2 separate regions of the Homo sapiens genome follow, and region 2 is linked to region 1. Evidence: promoter capture Hi-C in 16 types of primary human blood cells and fetal thymus (Javierre and others, 2016). All regions are on one chromosome and are shown on one strand. Each heading gives the region's core, a stretch centred on a gene start or on the middle of the fragment in contact. The rest is flanking DNA. Distances are from core to core; before and after follow the strand shown. Region 1 holds the start of RPL7 (ribosomal protein L7). Region 2 holds the start of ASPH (aspartate beta-hydroxylase).

Evidence for each region. The method cuts DNA at HindIII sites, captures the fragments that hold promoters and counts their contacts. A CHiCAGO score of 5 or more calls a contact.
Region 2: a contact is called between the fragment with the promoter of ASPH here and the fragment with the promoter of RPL7 in region 1, in 1 of 17 cell types (naive CD8 T cells). The highest score is 5.9, in naive CD8 T cells.

The regions. Positions count from the first base shown.
Region 1 is chr8:73,289,742-73,297,321 of GRCh38, forward strand. RPL7 (ribosomal protein L7) reads right to left here and starts at 3,892. Exons shown (of 7, transcript NM_000971.4): 1 at 3,858-3,892; 2 at 2,948-3,056; 3 at 2,498-2,664; 4 at 2,032-2,169; 5 at 1,811-1,920; 6 at 1,302-1,511; 7 at 501-964. The coding sequence starts at 3,871. The coding sequence ends at 1,303. It overlaps RDH10 (retinol dehydrogenase 10), which reads left to right and starts at 4,861. Exons shown (of 6, transcript NM_172037.5): 1 at 4,861-5,837; 2 at 7,453-7,580. The coding sequence starts at 5,549. RefSeq lists enhancers at 3,144-3,852, 3,474-3,523, 3,534-3,893, 3,853-4,560, 4,014-4,503 and a silencer at 4,594-5,553. The HindIII fragment of the contact is 6,100 bases long and covers 2,642-7,580 here.
Region 2 is chr8:61,711,647-61,719,226 of GRCh38, forward strand. ASPH (aspartate beta-hydroxylase) reads right to left here and starts at 2,946. Exons shown (of 25, transcript NM_004318.4): 1 at 2,623-2,946. The coding sequence starts at 2,725. MIR4470 (microRNA 4470) reads left to right here and starts at 3,142; the gene lies at 3,142-3,213. RefSeq lists silencers at 2,316-2,745, 2,786-3,155. The HindIII fragment of the contact is 6,840 bases long and covers 1-6,308 here.

The DNA of each region.
Region 1 (7,580 bases), core at 2,642-5,141:
TGATTTTTATAAACGATCATCTTGATTTCTCTCCAAAATTCACTGACCCTAAACAAACTTACTAAGCCAGAGAAATAGGTCCCAAAACCAGGAACAAAGAACTCAAAGAAATTCTATTTGTCTAGCAACTTTCGAATATTAAAAAGCAATAAATGACTGTGGAGCAGTAGTACCAAAATAATTACTAAGGGAGCTGTTTCAGTGTGTCAGAACTTTGACAACTAAATGAGGACCACAAACATTTTTACTCTCATTCTATGTACTTCATGTTACACTCTACATTGTTCACTAGTCTAGGTGAAACAATACATGAAGTATAAAGGAATGTTATTTACAAAAAAACCTTTGAAGTTTTTGCCCATTAATTTCATCAGATGCTCTGAAATAATTTGCATCCCTGGGCACAAATTTCATGCCTTCCTTCATAATACCCACAGTATGTAACAATTATTAGTAACTCACGTAAGTATGGCAAAAGATGCAAAACAAGAACACAAAAATGGAATGCAAAAGGAAAACAACACATTTACATGGCAGTTTATAAACAAGCGAAGGCCCGAGAAATAAATTTTAGCAACTAAATTCAATTTTTTCCATAAACCAAAGTTGGATTACCTTACCGACAAATCATGTACAAATGCTTGTGAAACAGGCTTTCTTAGAATAAACCCATTTCGAATCACTCAGCACAGTTAAAAAACAAAAAATTAAAATCTTTTGTATAGAAAAGCCTTTTAAAAACCCAAGAGATGTCTTTCACACAGACTCGACCCTGATTTTGCACGAAATGGGCTGTTGATTTGGCTTAATTTTATCACACACCACACTTGCCACAGTAGTTAAGGGAAGACAGAGGCAGGCTAACAACAACAACAACAAATCACAAATACAACAATATATTTCAATTTGAGAGCAGGTACTGTTTATTAACCAACCAGCTTAGAAAAATAATCATGGTAGACACCTGAAAGGAAAAAAGAAAACCATTAGAAAACACTTTAGGCAGCTAACAATTAACATAAACTAGGCAGTTATAAAGTAATGATTGAGTTTACATTTTTAAGACCACCCAATTTCCATCTTTAAAGACTCCCCAAAACAGGCTTTTCCTTTCCTCCAGAAAGGTCCTCAAAAGCAGTAAACAAACCAACTGTAATCATTAAGATAGTTGACCCCCACTCCCCACAAAAGCACTGATTAAAATTCAAACCCCCATCAATATTTAATGGGAAAAGTATTCAAGATTACCACCACTTATACTCTAACATTAACTCAACCTTTCTCAGGATGAGGTCTCTCACCTTAGTTCATTCTTCTAATAAGCCTGTTGATCTGGTCCTCCCTGTTGCCAGCATCTCCACCTTCTACAAAATGGGTGGTCTTTTTCTTCATTCCACCTCGTGGAGAAGACAATTTGAAGGGCCACAGGAAGTTATTTGCCTCTTTGAAGCGTTTTCCAACAGTATAGATCTCATGAATCAAATCCTCCATGCAGATGATGCCGTATTTACCTAAATATTTTAAGGTTATTTAAGATTATTAAAGTTGCAAAAAGTTTTGAAATAATTATTCAAAATCTTTTTGAATAGGCTGTGAGATGAAAACATAACCAGGAATAAACAAGGTAAATGCATGGCTTTACAAAGATAAGGTTCAAGCTAATGAAACCATGTCTTACGTTTTCTTTTAAGCTAAATCAAGAATCATAGGGAACACATGAAGATTCACAATAGTGAGAAATGTACGGCCACAAGAGGGTAAGAAATTATCGCATGGTCTAATACCAAATTTTCCCCCAAATAGAACCTACCAAGAGATCGAGCAATCAAAGCGTTATCTGTCAAAGCAATTCGCTTCTTATTGATTTTGCCATAACCACGCTTGTAGATTAGTTCATTTACTGACTTCAGATTGGGGTACCTGAAGTGAAAAAGCAAACATAAATAAGGTGACCACTGTTAAAACATCTAAAATTCATGTTGCTACATAACCAATTTATCAAATAGAAATCAAAGGAGAAAAGAGACTTACCCCCATGCAATATATGGCTCTACAATCCTCAGCATGTTAATCGAAGCCTTGTTGAGCTTCACAAAGGTTCCATTGAAGATTTGACGAAGGCGAAGAAGCTGCAACACCTTTCGAACCTTTGGGCTCACTCCATTGATACTGTGGTGAAAACGGACCAGAAATGCATTTGCCTTTCATCGAAATTTTTATTAATACTAACCATTATAGTTTTGAATATCGAATCCTACCTAAACAGATAGGAATCCTCTCATGTTACACACTGAATTTCTGTATTCTATTAAGAGAAGGGATAGGAGCTTGGGGAACATGGCTTGCAACTAAACCATTAGTGATCAGCACCCTCCTTGTTCTAGCTTCCCCTAAAATATTGTTACTCCGGTGTTTCAGAATCAGGGCTCCCAGAAGTAATGTGAAGGTTTTTTTTTTTTTTCCCATTCAAACCCGAATGCAGTAAAACTGAACTTACCCTCTGATTCTGATGACAAACGCCAATTTGGGTTCTGCAGGTACATAGAAGTTGCCAGCTTTTCTTGCCATCCTCGCCATTCGAATTTCAGTTCTGTACATCTGCCTATATTCCTTGTGATAGTGCTTTGCTTTTTCATAGATAAGCTTCCTCCTTGCCTTTCGAAGCTGAAAACCAATAATCAGTTATTCATAATTTTTAGCTCAATCACAATTAGCAATGCCAATCATTAAAAAGAAAACTACAACATGTTTCCTTTAAATCTTTTCTTGCCACAGTATGCAATTACATCCCCCACCAAAAAACCCCACTACCTTCAGATTGTAACATTAGGTAGCTAAGCAATTACTCAGTACAGTTAGGAAGTAAATCTTGCCAAGAACATTCACCTCATCCTCAATCCCAATAAGGCGCCTCCTTATGTGCTAGTGCCTCAAAAAGTTTACTTACCATCTTTTGGGCAAACTTCTTTCTCAGGCGCTTGATCTTCAGCTCTGCGAAATTCCTTCGCTTTTTCTTAAGGGTTTCTGGCACAGCAGGAACCTCCTTCTTCTTCTCTCTAACGTTAATAAACAAAAATGTTATCAATAGCTCAAAAAGCTCACAGCGCTGTATTACTCCCGTACTGAGCAGTGTTGTTTACCAGAAATGCTGTCACTGACTTTAGTCACTAGTAACTTTACTTGCTCTGGCATGCTACAGTGTACGATGCATATTTTAGCTCCATGTCAATAACCTTTAACACCATGTTGCCTAAAACGCAATCACAAATATGACAATAGCAATACGTTTTTCCCTATTTCAACCAAGAGGCCCGGCCTCCGACGACTAATTAAAAAAAAAAACAAAAAAAACACACCAACACCCGAATAACAAAATGTACTAGCTGAAAGACTACTGCAAGGCACTGACCCCGAGACTTTAAGCGCAAAAATTAAAAAATAAAAATAAAAAAAAAACAAGCCACCACCACTCTGGTTCAATCAGGATCCACATGTTGAAAGCAAAGGCCTGGCGGCAGGGAGGCCTGTACCAAGCACCAGCCAAGGACGAACACAATTCAGAGGTTCTGCGCCTCCCCCGAAAGACCCTCTACCGAGGACTGGGCCGTCAGCCAACCGACGGGTTCCACACACATTCCAACCCGACATCTCGTTCCCGGGATCTCCAAAACCTCCGTCCTAAGACCGCCCGCATCCCAACCCTAGCCTCAGGTCCCCACTGGTGTCACACAGCGTTCACAATCAAGCAGGGAGGTGGGCAAAGGTGCAAGCTACGGCCAGAGAGAGAAAAAGTGACACAAAAAGTATCTGGCTCTGGAGATGGAGAAGGATTCTCAAGAGGACCAGAAGCAACTCACTCTACACCCTCCATGGTTCCAGCCGGAAAAAGAGGAAGTTGGCGCATGCGTACTGTCCACTTAAAGACTTCGCGAGAGAAGCCCCACGACTCATAGGTGTCTTAGAATAAGCCGGAAAAGAATCCAGAACTAAAAAGCCGCCTTGCAGACGCAAAGAACTCCCTGATTTAGCCTCTTTCAACAAACTTTCGGGTAAAACTTGTTTGAAGAAAATATATGCATTTGATTAGACTTTTTAATCAATTCAAGAGCAAAGAGTGCTGACACCTTGGCAACTCCGGGTCCTAATCCCCAGGCTGCGCTGACAGGATTAGGCTCCGTTCCTCCCCATAATGTTCCCAGGACGAGCCTCATGGGGACGAACTACAAATCCCAGCATGCACCAGTCTTCGCCCGCCCGGCGGGAGGGCAACGGCTGACCAGGACCGCAGGCAAGCACCGCGGCGACGGTTCCAGCCAGGAAAATGAGAGCCTCTTGGGCCACGTTCCAAACGGCTAGCTGCAATTCGAAGTCACTTTTGGCCGCCCTCCCGGCTCCCTGCCGCGGTAGTCGCAGACTACACCCCTTTCGCCGCTCCGCGAGGTCCTTGTCGTCGCTCCAGCCCACAGGGCTGTCTTCCGCAGCGCCTGATCGCAGGCGGGGCGGTCTGGAGTGCTCTAGCTTACGAAAAGTGGCTAGCCAGGGACCAGTGGGGACCGGACGGCCGGAGGAGGATGGCCGGGGCTCTGCTGACTGCCGAGCTCGGCAGGCGGAGGCCAGGACACCCCACGGGAGGGGGCGTGAGCTGCGAAGGGAGGTGCGAGGAGGGCTGAGGTTGCGGCCACGGCCGTGTGAGAGGGGCTACCCGGCTCGGCTCCGCGGACGGCTGGCGGGCTGGGGGCTGGGCCGGGGGCGGGGTGCGCCCGGGGGCGGGGAGGCCGGGCGGAGGGAGGGCCGATGCCGAGGCTGGCGCGGGCTCTTCCCGGTCGCGGGGTTATATAGCGCGGAGCGTGGAGCCCGCTCAGAGCCGGCCCGGAGCGCTCTGACTTGCAAGCGGGCTGCGCTGCGGAGCCCAGTGCCCGAGTGACACCCGCGGAGAGTGCAGGGCCGGGGAACGCGAGCCCTCGGGGGCAGCTGCAAGGCGTTGGGCAGCGCTTGCCTGCGCCGAGCGAGTCTCCCCTTCCCGGCGCTCCGCCGCCCCGCACCCCACTCTCCCACCCTCTCGCAACTTGGGTCGAGTTGACAACTCCCGCGGCAGCCCGCTGGCCCGTGCCGCCTCCGCTGCGCACCCCTCCCCCGGGGTGAGAGGGAGCCGGCGCGCCGGTTCCGGGGACGCTCGGGCGGCAGCAGCTTGGCCATGAGGGCAGTTCGAGTAGTCTAACTCGCGGCTGTCACCGCCACTGCAGCGGAGCCGGCCGGCCGGGCGCTGCGGGACGGGCGGGCGGCTGCCGGCAGGAGGCGCCGAGCCGGGTGACTGCCGCGGCGGGCACAGTCCGGGGCCACAGCGCCGAGCCCGGGCGGGAGTGGCCCCGCGCAGGCAGGGAGCGGCGCCGCGCACTCCAACCCGGCGGGCACCTCGGGGGCGGGCGCGGGGCGCAGCCTTCTCGTCCCGGCCTCTGTGACAAGCGCCCCGGAGCCGGGAGCCCGATTGCCGGGCTCGGGGTGGGCGCGGACGCAGGCACTGGGCTCGTGCGGGGCCCCGGGCGTCGCGATGAACATCGTGGTGGAGTTCTTCGTGGTCACTTTCAAAGTGCTCTGGGCGTTCGTGCTGGCCGCGGCGCGCTGGCTGGTGCGGCCCAAGGAGAAGAGCGTGGCGGGCCAGGTGTGCCTCATCACCGGCGCCGGCAGCGGCCTGGGCCGCCTCTTCGCGCTGGAGTTCGCCCGGCGTCGGGCGCTGCTGGTGCTGTGGGACATCAACACGCAAAGCAACGAGGAGACGGCTGGCATGGTGCGCCACATCTACCGCGACCTGGAGGCGGCCGACGCCGCTGCGCTGCAAGGTAACCTGGACCCGCGCGGGAGCATTGTTGGGTCAAGCCTCTTTCCACCCCGCGCCCTACCACGGCAGGCCCCAAACCCCGCTGCCTGGTCAGCCCCGCTGTGGAGGAAAGGAACACCCCACCGGTCTTTTGGGAGACGAGTGGAATTCGCTTCCTGATAAAGGAACGCGATCACTTCTGTATTACCAGGGAGAAGGTGCCCTGTCCTCGCGGAGGTTCGGTCTCTGGGGACCACGGCGGGGGGAGGGGGCGGGTTTCCTAAGCCCTCCGGGGTAGGGAAGGCGGAGGGAACTTGTTACCACAGGTTTGGATCCCAAAGAAATGTCTTGCTCCGACTTACAAGCGGCGCGATGGGAAACTGAAGCGTCTTTGGGAAGTTGTTCTGACTAGACTGAAGAAGTGTCTGTCTTACTGTGGTCTGAACCCCTTAGACGAGGGCAGTATTGACGGTTTCATTATAAGTTTAGCCTGAGGAACATAATTACATTGTTTCGCCAGCGATAAGTGCTTTAGTTACATTCCCTGAGCGTGATTGAAAGACGCCTTGCTTCCTAAGAGAAAGCTCTTGGAGGATTTAGGCTTCGTTGTAAATTTCTTCCATGTTTTTGGTCACCCCAGAAAATCTGCATTTCTGAATACTTATTAACTAACCTGAATCTGAGTTGTTTTTTTTTTTAAGCCAAAGCAAAGTCCATAACCAACCATAAATATTGGTTCAGGAAATTTGATAATGGCTGTTGGTTTTTAACAAAATTTTTCATTTTTAGGGAAAACATTTACCTGTACGGAGAAAATTGACTTGGGCACTTCTCCCCTGTATTGATAATTTATCATCAAACTTATTGATACCTGCGTTTTTAATTTAAGGGTGAAAATGTACCATTTTCATTGGTGGTATGGAGGTGTAGCAAATACAGATTTTTGTGCTCCCTGCCGAAACCTAAAAGATAAGGGTATTCATTTTCCAGGATACCGATTTTGGTTTTTAAATTGTCAAGTTCTTATGCGGTAAAATTGCATATTTACCTGTAACTTGATTTGTGAGAGTACTTCTTAGAGGAGTCAGCCCAGTTAGAACAAGCCAGTGATCCCTATTTCTTCATTAAAAATTGTGGATTCATTTCTTGGCTTTGGATGAGTTCAGATTATTAATTGCAGTTTTGATTTGTGAGCCTTGAAGTGAGTTTCCATTTTGAGGGTTCTCATACTAAAGACTAAGAGCTGTTTCTCTTGGGCCACTGTTTCCCCAAAAAAAGAGGAGTGTGTAGTGTGTGTGTGTTGTTCTCTGAGCTCTGGGCTGAGATCAGTTCTTTGCAGGTGTCTTTAGCTCCAGCAAGCTGATCCCATGTGGTCTACTTGTATTGGGCTTGTCACAATTACATGACTTTCCCCTAAGCAAAGTTATCCAGTAAATTGCTGTAATTCCCAAAGACTTCATGGGAGGAAGGCAGCTGTAAAGCTCAGTCGTTGGCAAGCCTTGCAGCGTTAGAAATTTGAAGCTCACTGTAGTATTTTTGTTTTGTGTGATCTTTGTCCTACTGATCGCCATGTGACTCACTTTCTGCACTTCCTTCTCTTTTGCATGTTTTCTCCTCATCTGGACTTCTGAGGACAGCTGGGAATGGTGAGGAAGAAATTCTGCCCCACTGTAACTTGCAGGTTTTTACCTACACCTGTGACGTGGGGAAGAGGGAGAACGTCTACCTGACGGCTGAAAGAGTCCGCAAGGAGGTTGGCGAAGTC
Region 2 (7,580 bases), core at 1,696-4,195, about 12 Mb before region 1:
TGGCCAGGAAAAAAAAAAGAAATCACCTTTTCCCTAAAATGCATGTTTCAAATGACTGGGTTCTTTTTTCCCCATACGTTTACACAACAACTTAAGAAATAATAATGTTTAATGTGACCAATGCCGTCATTTTCTGACTCTCAATGTAAGACATATCAAAAAACGTACTATTTGAACACATATACTTCTTCTCAAACTAAAATTTCAAATAGTGTTTCAAATAGAATTTTTGTCAAGGGAAATGTAATTGGTGATAGGACAAAAGCATAGTTTTCTCCAATAATTAAATGTAGTACTCATGGAGACAGCCAGAAGAAAACTTGATAATCTAGTTCAACTCCAATTACATACTAGAGAACCTAAAATTCAAGCATGGCAAAATGAATAACAAAACCTGGGTTCTTAGTCTCGGTTCTTCCAGTAATTAGTTGAGTTTCCATGAACTAAACAACCTTCAATGAACTCGGCAACTTCTCTGGGCATTAATTTCCTCATCTGTATGATTTGAGCAGGAAACTAAATGGGTCTCACAGTATGACACTGCTAAAAAGTCTTTGATTTTCCCAGTAGAAGGAAATGGTTCGCACAACGTCCGTACTTTAATGACCAGGTAAACAGCATTAAAAGAAAAGCCGGCTTTATCTTTCGAGTACAGCCTACTATACACGACACTGTACTTTAACTGTTTAGGGTGATGGAAGGAAATGGTTTCCATACCCAGTGCCTTCTATCTGGCACACAGTAAGAACTCAGTATCTACTGGAGAAAAAAAAGAAAAGGTTGCGGATATGCGGATAAAGAATACTCATTACGTCACATGCAGGGTTCCAATATCAACTTTTGTTTTCGTATCACGGGCATTCCTCCCTTTTACATATTCTTTTACATACTATGTCTGTTTCATGACTATTAGAGAATCAACGTGTAAAATGCTTAAAAGGCTGTAGATCCTCAAATATGGGCAGAGTTTGTTCTAAAATGCCTGACTATGAAAGTCAGGAGAAGTTAATTTAAGTTACTGCATTTTCTAAACCTATCTCTTGCCTGTTAAAATGCTTCAAATAGTTATGGGGTAGGTCTAGAAACGTGAGACACATTTCCCAGTATTAGTTCTCACCAATAAGAGGCCATATAAAGTGACTTCCCTCAGATGCAATCAGCCCTCTCCTCATAAACACAAAAATGAAATGGAACGAAGACATGCTTCTCTGGCAAATAGCTACAGAAACCTTTTGAAAACAACTAACATTAAAGTTGTTCATCAGCTTTCTCTGCTTAGTGCCCTTAGAGGCACAATGAGAAGAACCCATTCTCATTTAGGGATGTTAAAAAAGAGTAGCCTCAGTCGGCTGAGGCAATTAATCTATCCCTCTGCAGGTTTAAGTAAGTGACATTTAAGAACAAGTGAAAAAGGAACACAAACTTTCACTTATGTCAAAGGTGAATTAATATGCTTGCATTGAACTTCAAACTGTGTCTACATCTTTACTTTTAGAATACAAATATTAGTCCTTAGAATGTAAATTTGTGCAATGGATTTAATGCACTACTTTCCCCATTTAAATCCATTCATTCATTCACTACTCAAATATTTATTGAGCACCTATTATGGGAAAGGAACATTCTAGGAGCTGGGGATACAGAGAGAATGAGCCAAAGACAACACACATGAAAGTAATAAGACAAGTTCAGATAGTGACAAGTGCTATAAAGAAAATACTTCTTTGACTATAGCTGATTCATTTTCTTGGTATATTATGAATGCATGATCTGAAGATCTCAGAAAACAAAGAGTCTAAATCACTTCAAGTGAAGTTTACAGCTCACATTCCATACACATGTGTATTGCAGTTTCAATATCCCAAATATGAGTCAAAGGAAGTATAAAAGAAACCAAGAATCACTGAAATATGAGACGAAACAGATTTAAAAATCTGTTCTCTCTGCTGGATATGCACACGGACGAGGAGAAAGGTGAATATCCAATCGATTTTTATTTTAAGTAAAAGTGGTAAAAATACAGACGCTCGTTCAGTATTTCATGACATTCTATTTTAAAGGCAACTGCAACGCATATTAAGAAAGCTACATACAAGCAAAAATATTTAAAATAATTTCTGAGAGCATTCAAATCACTCCCAACTTCTTCCCTCCCCCTGCCCCCCGGCGCCCCCATTTTCACCTCCTTTGAGTTGCTCTGAAACGCTGCTGGTTAGGCAGGAACTCACTTTCCCTGACTTTGGCTCATTTTCAACTCCCCAAAACACGCAAGGCAAACGATAAATTGTTCTCTTACTCCCATGTTCAATTCCACGGAAAGCCAAGAAACAGTCGTTCAGCAACCTCTGTCTCGGCTGCGCCCTGCAGGTGAAGGAACCGCTGGGAAGGGGCTCCCCGAGACTAGCATCCCGAGGGCTCGGACCCCGGTCCGCCTGGCCCCTCGCCCGCCCGCCAGGCCCGCCGAATGCGGCCTCCGCCCCGCGCGCCTAAAGGAGGAGCGTCGCGGGGGATGGAGGCGGCGCGCGGTGGGACCTGGGGAGATGCACCCGCAGCGTCCGCCGCGCCAGCCGGCTCCCTACCCCGAGGCGAGGCCCCAGATCCCCGCCCCGCAGGGCCTCTGACCTCTCCGGGCCCCGGGGCTGCTGCTGCCCGCACTCGTGCTACCGCTGCCGGAGCCGCTGCTGCTGCTGTTGCCGCTGCTCTTGGCATTCTTACGCTGGGCCATTGCACGGTCCGCGGGGGCTGGTGAGGGCTGGCGGACCTCCTTCAGTGCGCGGGGGTACACACGCGACGCGGGAACCGCTGGCGGCGGCGGGCCGCTGGAGCGGGTTCGGGCCGCTGCTCCTGCAGCAGACCCTGTGCCTCAGCACCGCCTGCAGCACCTGGGAAGACTTCACCCGCCTGCCGGCTGCGCGCGCCCGGCCTCGCGTGTACGAACCTGTGACTCCCTCCCGGGGCGAGAGCGCGCGGCTCGCCGCCCGACGGCCACGCCCCTTCCCGGCCTCGCCCCGCCCCCGGAAGGCTGAGTGACGGCGCCTGGGACCCAATCGCAAGGGCCCTTACGAGGCGGCGGTACCCTGCCGCGCTCCCCGCCCCTGCTCACTTAGGGCTGTTCGGGCGCTACGCAGCTGCCTGTGAGCGCGAGCCTCTTTCGGCTTTCCAGTTTGTCTCGGTCCTTTGGAACGTGGCAAACGTGGAAGCCGAGAGGGCTCTCGCGAGCGTTGGCAGACCCCGCTCCATAGGGATGGGACAGGGCGCGGTGCGGAATAGGTGGACACGTGGGCCGCCCGTGGGCGGAGTGCGCCGCTTCTAGGCCTTTCACTGTGGATTTTGTCCCCTTTCCGTATACAAGGAAAGGAAGGAGTGCAGTCTCGCTTCTTGCGAAAGAGATCCCTATTTCTTGTCCTGATTAATACTAAGACATTTCTGGAATGGTGATATTAGGACTAGTTCAATGCTTAAACCGTAGTAGTTCATCCATTTGGTGCTGAAGCAGGAATTTAGTTCGTTTGTGCCATCAGTATTTTCAGATACTCTTAGTTAAGGAATGAAAATGCAAATGTGACACAAAAAGTTCATTTTCTTACCCTGGATGGCACCCTCTGTCTGAAATCCCTGGCTGCTTTGCTAACGCCTGGGCCTGTGCTGCCTGAGAATTCCCAACAGAGTATTAAAATGTCTTGGCACGTGGTTGAACCAGACAAGGACTTGAGATCAGCGACGTCTTTATCATCTTTGTGTCACCATTGCTAACACCATGCCCAATGTGTAACAGGCAAGCAAGAAATGCTTAGTGATTTGATACATTTCTGTCAATTGCTGAACCCACAGCTCTTGATCATGTTTCGTAGCAACCCCTGGGAGTGTCTCAGGAGGGCTCAGGGACCAGAGAGAGCAGTTGCATTGTGGCATCTGGTTTCATTCCTCTTTTCCAGCCCCACAAACCCACCCACCCGCGCCTTCAGAAGCACTCCCGCCTCCCCCCGGCCCCATGCCTTTTCACCTGTGGATGGTTGGATGCTGCTTGACCCTGCCCTGATGATGCACAGAAACCCCCCAAAGGTCATGTTGCAGAATAAAGAGAATGCCTTTCTTTACCTTTTGTCAAATAGTGTTAGGCTATTATCAAGAGACGGTGGGAGGGGAGAGTTCACAGAGTTTTTATTGAAGTAGCTCTCTCAGCTTTTATCTTGTGGCATCTCCTTCTGCATCCATATATCCTTTCTCCCATTCAGGGCCCCCTTACAACCCTCTATTATATTATCTCAATGAAGGAGGTGGAGAACTGGATTAAGAAATAAATCTGAGTGATGGTGCTTCATATAAAATAAAAATGAGAGCTAAATTTCAAAACACAATGCTCTAGCCACCCCCCACCCCCCACACCAAAGATATTTTTACCCTTAAATTCTCACAAAACCCTGTAGTCATATCAATTTTTTAAAGAAATTAGATACTGGAAGCTCAGAGAGATAAAACAAAGTAGGGTCACTGTATTAGTCCGTTTTCACACTGCAGATAAAGACATATCCCAGACTGGAAAGAAAAAGGGGTTTAATTGGAGTTACAGTTCCACATGGCTGGGGAGGCCTCAGAATCATGGCAGGAGGTGAAAGGCACTTCTTACATGGAGGTGGCAAGAGAAAATGAGGAAGAAGTAAAAGCAGAAACCCCCAATAAACCCATTAGGTTTCATGAGAATTAATTCACTATCACGAGAATAGCACAGGAAAGACCGGCCCCCATGATTCAATTACCTCCCTCTGGGTTCTTCCCAAAACACATGGGAATTCTGAGAGATACAATTTGATGTTGAGATTTGAATGGGATCACAGCCAAACTATATCATTCTGCCCCAGTCCCTCCAAATTTCATGCCCTCACATTTCAGAACCAATCATGTTTTCCCAACAGTCCCCCAAAGCCTTAACTCATTTCAGCATTAACCCAAAAGTCCACAGTCCAAAGTCTCATCTGAGACAAGGCAAGTCCCTTCTACCTAAGAGCCTGTAAAATCAAAAGTAAGCTAGTTACTTCTTAGATACAATGAGGGTACAGGTATTGGGTAAATACAGCCATTTCAAATGGGAGAAATTGGCCAAAACAGCGGGGTTACAGGGCCCATGCAAGTCTGAATTCGAGTGGGGCAGTCAAATTTTAAAGCTCCAGAATTATCTCCTTTGACTCCAGGTCTCATATCCAGGTCACTCTGATGCAAGAGGTGGGTTCCCATGGTTTTGGGCAGCTGCATCCCTGTGGCTTTGCAGGGTACAGCCTCCCTCCCAGCTGCTTTCACGGGCTGATATTGAGTGTCTGCGGCTTTTCCAGGTGCACAGTGCAAGCTGTCAGTGGATCTACCATTCTGGGGTCTAGAGGATGGTAGCAGTCTTCTCACAGCTCCACTAGGCAGTGACCCAGTATGGACTCTGTGTGGGGGCTCTGACCCCACATTTCCCTTCTGCACTGCCCTAGCAGAGGTTCTCCATGAGGGCCCTGTCCCTGCAGCAAACTTTTGCCTGGGCATCCAGGCGTTTCCATACATCTTCTGAAATCTAGGCGGAGGTTCCCAAACCTCAATTCTTGACTTCTGTGCACCTATAGGCTCAACACCACGTGGAAGTTGCCAAGGCTTGGAGCTTCCACCTTCTGAAGCCACAGTCTGAGCTGTACGTTGGAGCCTTTCAGCCACAGCTGGAGTGGCTGGGACAGTCACAAAGCTAGTAAGTGATAGAGGAGGGATGTGAACTTGGTTGGACTGGCTCCAGAGTCTATACTCCAAATTATTCCTCCTGGATAAGACATAGTTTTGAGTGGAGAAAGTCTCACCTGGCTCCCTTTTCGGTTAATGGATGTCTCCAGGAAGCCTCCTTGGTCCTACCTTCAAAGATAGGTCTGAAACCCAGTGGTAAGTGCTTATCAAAGCCTATCTTTTTAAGGAAATCAAATTTGTTTTATAGCTAACTCCAAAATGCCATTAAGTGATGCTTTGCTCCTGCATTTCCAGAAACTAAATCTGGTACCCCTGACAAGGTACATTGCTGTGTATCTTGGGCAATATCAGGCCAAAATAGAGGTTTTAGTAAATATGAATCACAGAAAGAAAGAGGCTACCTAGCGCTTTCTTGTATCCTGAGGAAACAACTATGATAACATTTATGTGCTCAGTATTATCGAATAAAACTTAAATCAGATGCCATCAGTTCTAGACACAGTTTCATTTCAGGGACTGAATTCCCTCAAGCTAAGTAACAGAACTATACATTTTATATCTGTCTGTACTTCCCATATTATGGGCATCAAAAAACGCAAAGCTTACTTAGGATTCATATATTTCTTTACAAAGGACATTTTCTCAGCATGGTTGTGAAAAAGACAAAGTATCTTAGTATCTTTTAAATTAAAGGAGAAGTCAAATGTCCCTTGTTAGCTTTTCCTCTTTTCTGTAATTTTCAAGCAAACTATGGGTGAAATAATGTTAAAAGGACCATAAAGACAAGACTTATCTAGGACAATTTATTAAAATACTAATTTAATAGAGCTTTTGAACTAGGTCAAATGTGTCTTTCAGGTATTTCCATAAACCTTCCACTGCCTTCAGTGGGATTTGCAAGTGAGAACTGGAGGACACGATTTGCCCTACTTCTTTTTTTTCCATTCTGATGACCCTTTACAACCTCCAGTCAAATTCCTTCCAAATTAATATTTCTGGACTTACTTATACCTACTATAGCATCGTTTTAAAAATTCCACTTTAACCTGCTTCCTAGAAAATGCCTCTCATTTTTATGCAATCTTCCTACTGTGAAGTTTTATTATTGCAAACTGGAACTGAGTATTTCCTCATCTTTATTTGCCATAGTAAGACCATAGTGGAAAACAATAAATTTCAACTGGTCATGATTCATTTATATGTTTTTCATATTATATTAGTGAAATTTGTTGCAACGAAAGGATATTGGTAAGTATAGGAGGATTTTGAAGGCATTCCCTACTCAGTGTTTTCAAAGCAATTATCCTCATATGAGTCATATCTCAACACGTAAATGAACTGTCATTTTCACCAAACAGCTTGACTTCAGATTATCTAGAAAAAATAAGCCTGACTAATATCTACATCATAAATAAATAGAATAAATTTATATGAGCAGAAGTGATTTTAAATCCAGTCTAAAATGGATTTGAGTTAGTACTATTGTGTTACGATATGGTAAAATGATCTGAAGTCACATTAGTTAAGAAACCTATCATTTCCTTTTTCCTTTCAATTCTTTAAATTTCCTATCAAGATTGGTACTTCTTAGAGCCAAAGTTCCTTTCTATCAAATAACATCTAAGTAAGTGCTATTGCCAGTTCTTGAGTTTTCTAGCACAGGGAAATGATGGAATTAACTGACTCTTCTTAAGTCTCAAACTTAATGCCAGAAAGAAACTTAAACATGGAGAAAAAGCCAAACATTAGAGAATAACAAGAAATTACAGTCATGGCAATTCCATAGTATATAAAGGACATATTAATGTGATTTAGGAGTAGTTAGAAAGTAAGAGGAAAAAAGGAAAAAATGTGGAGAAATCTCAATAATT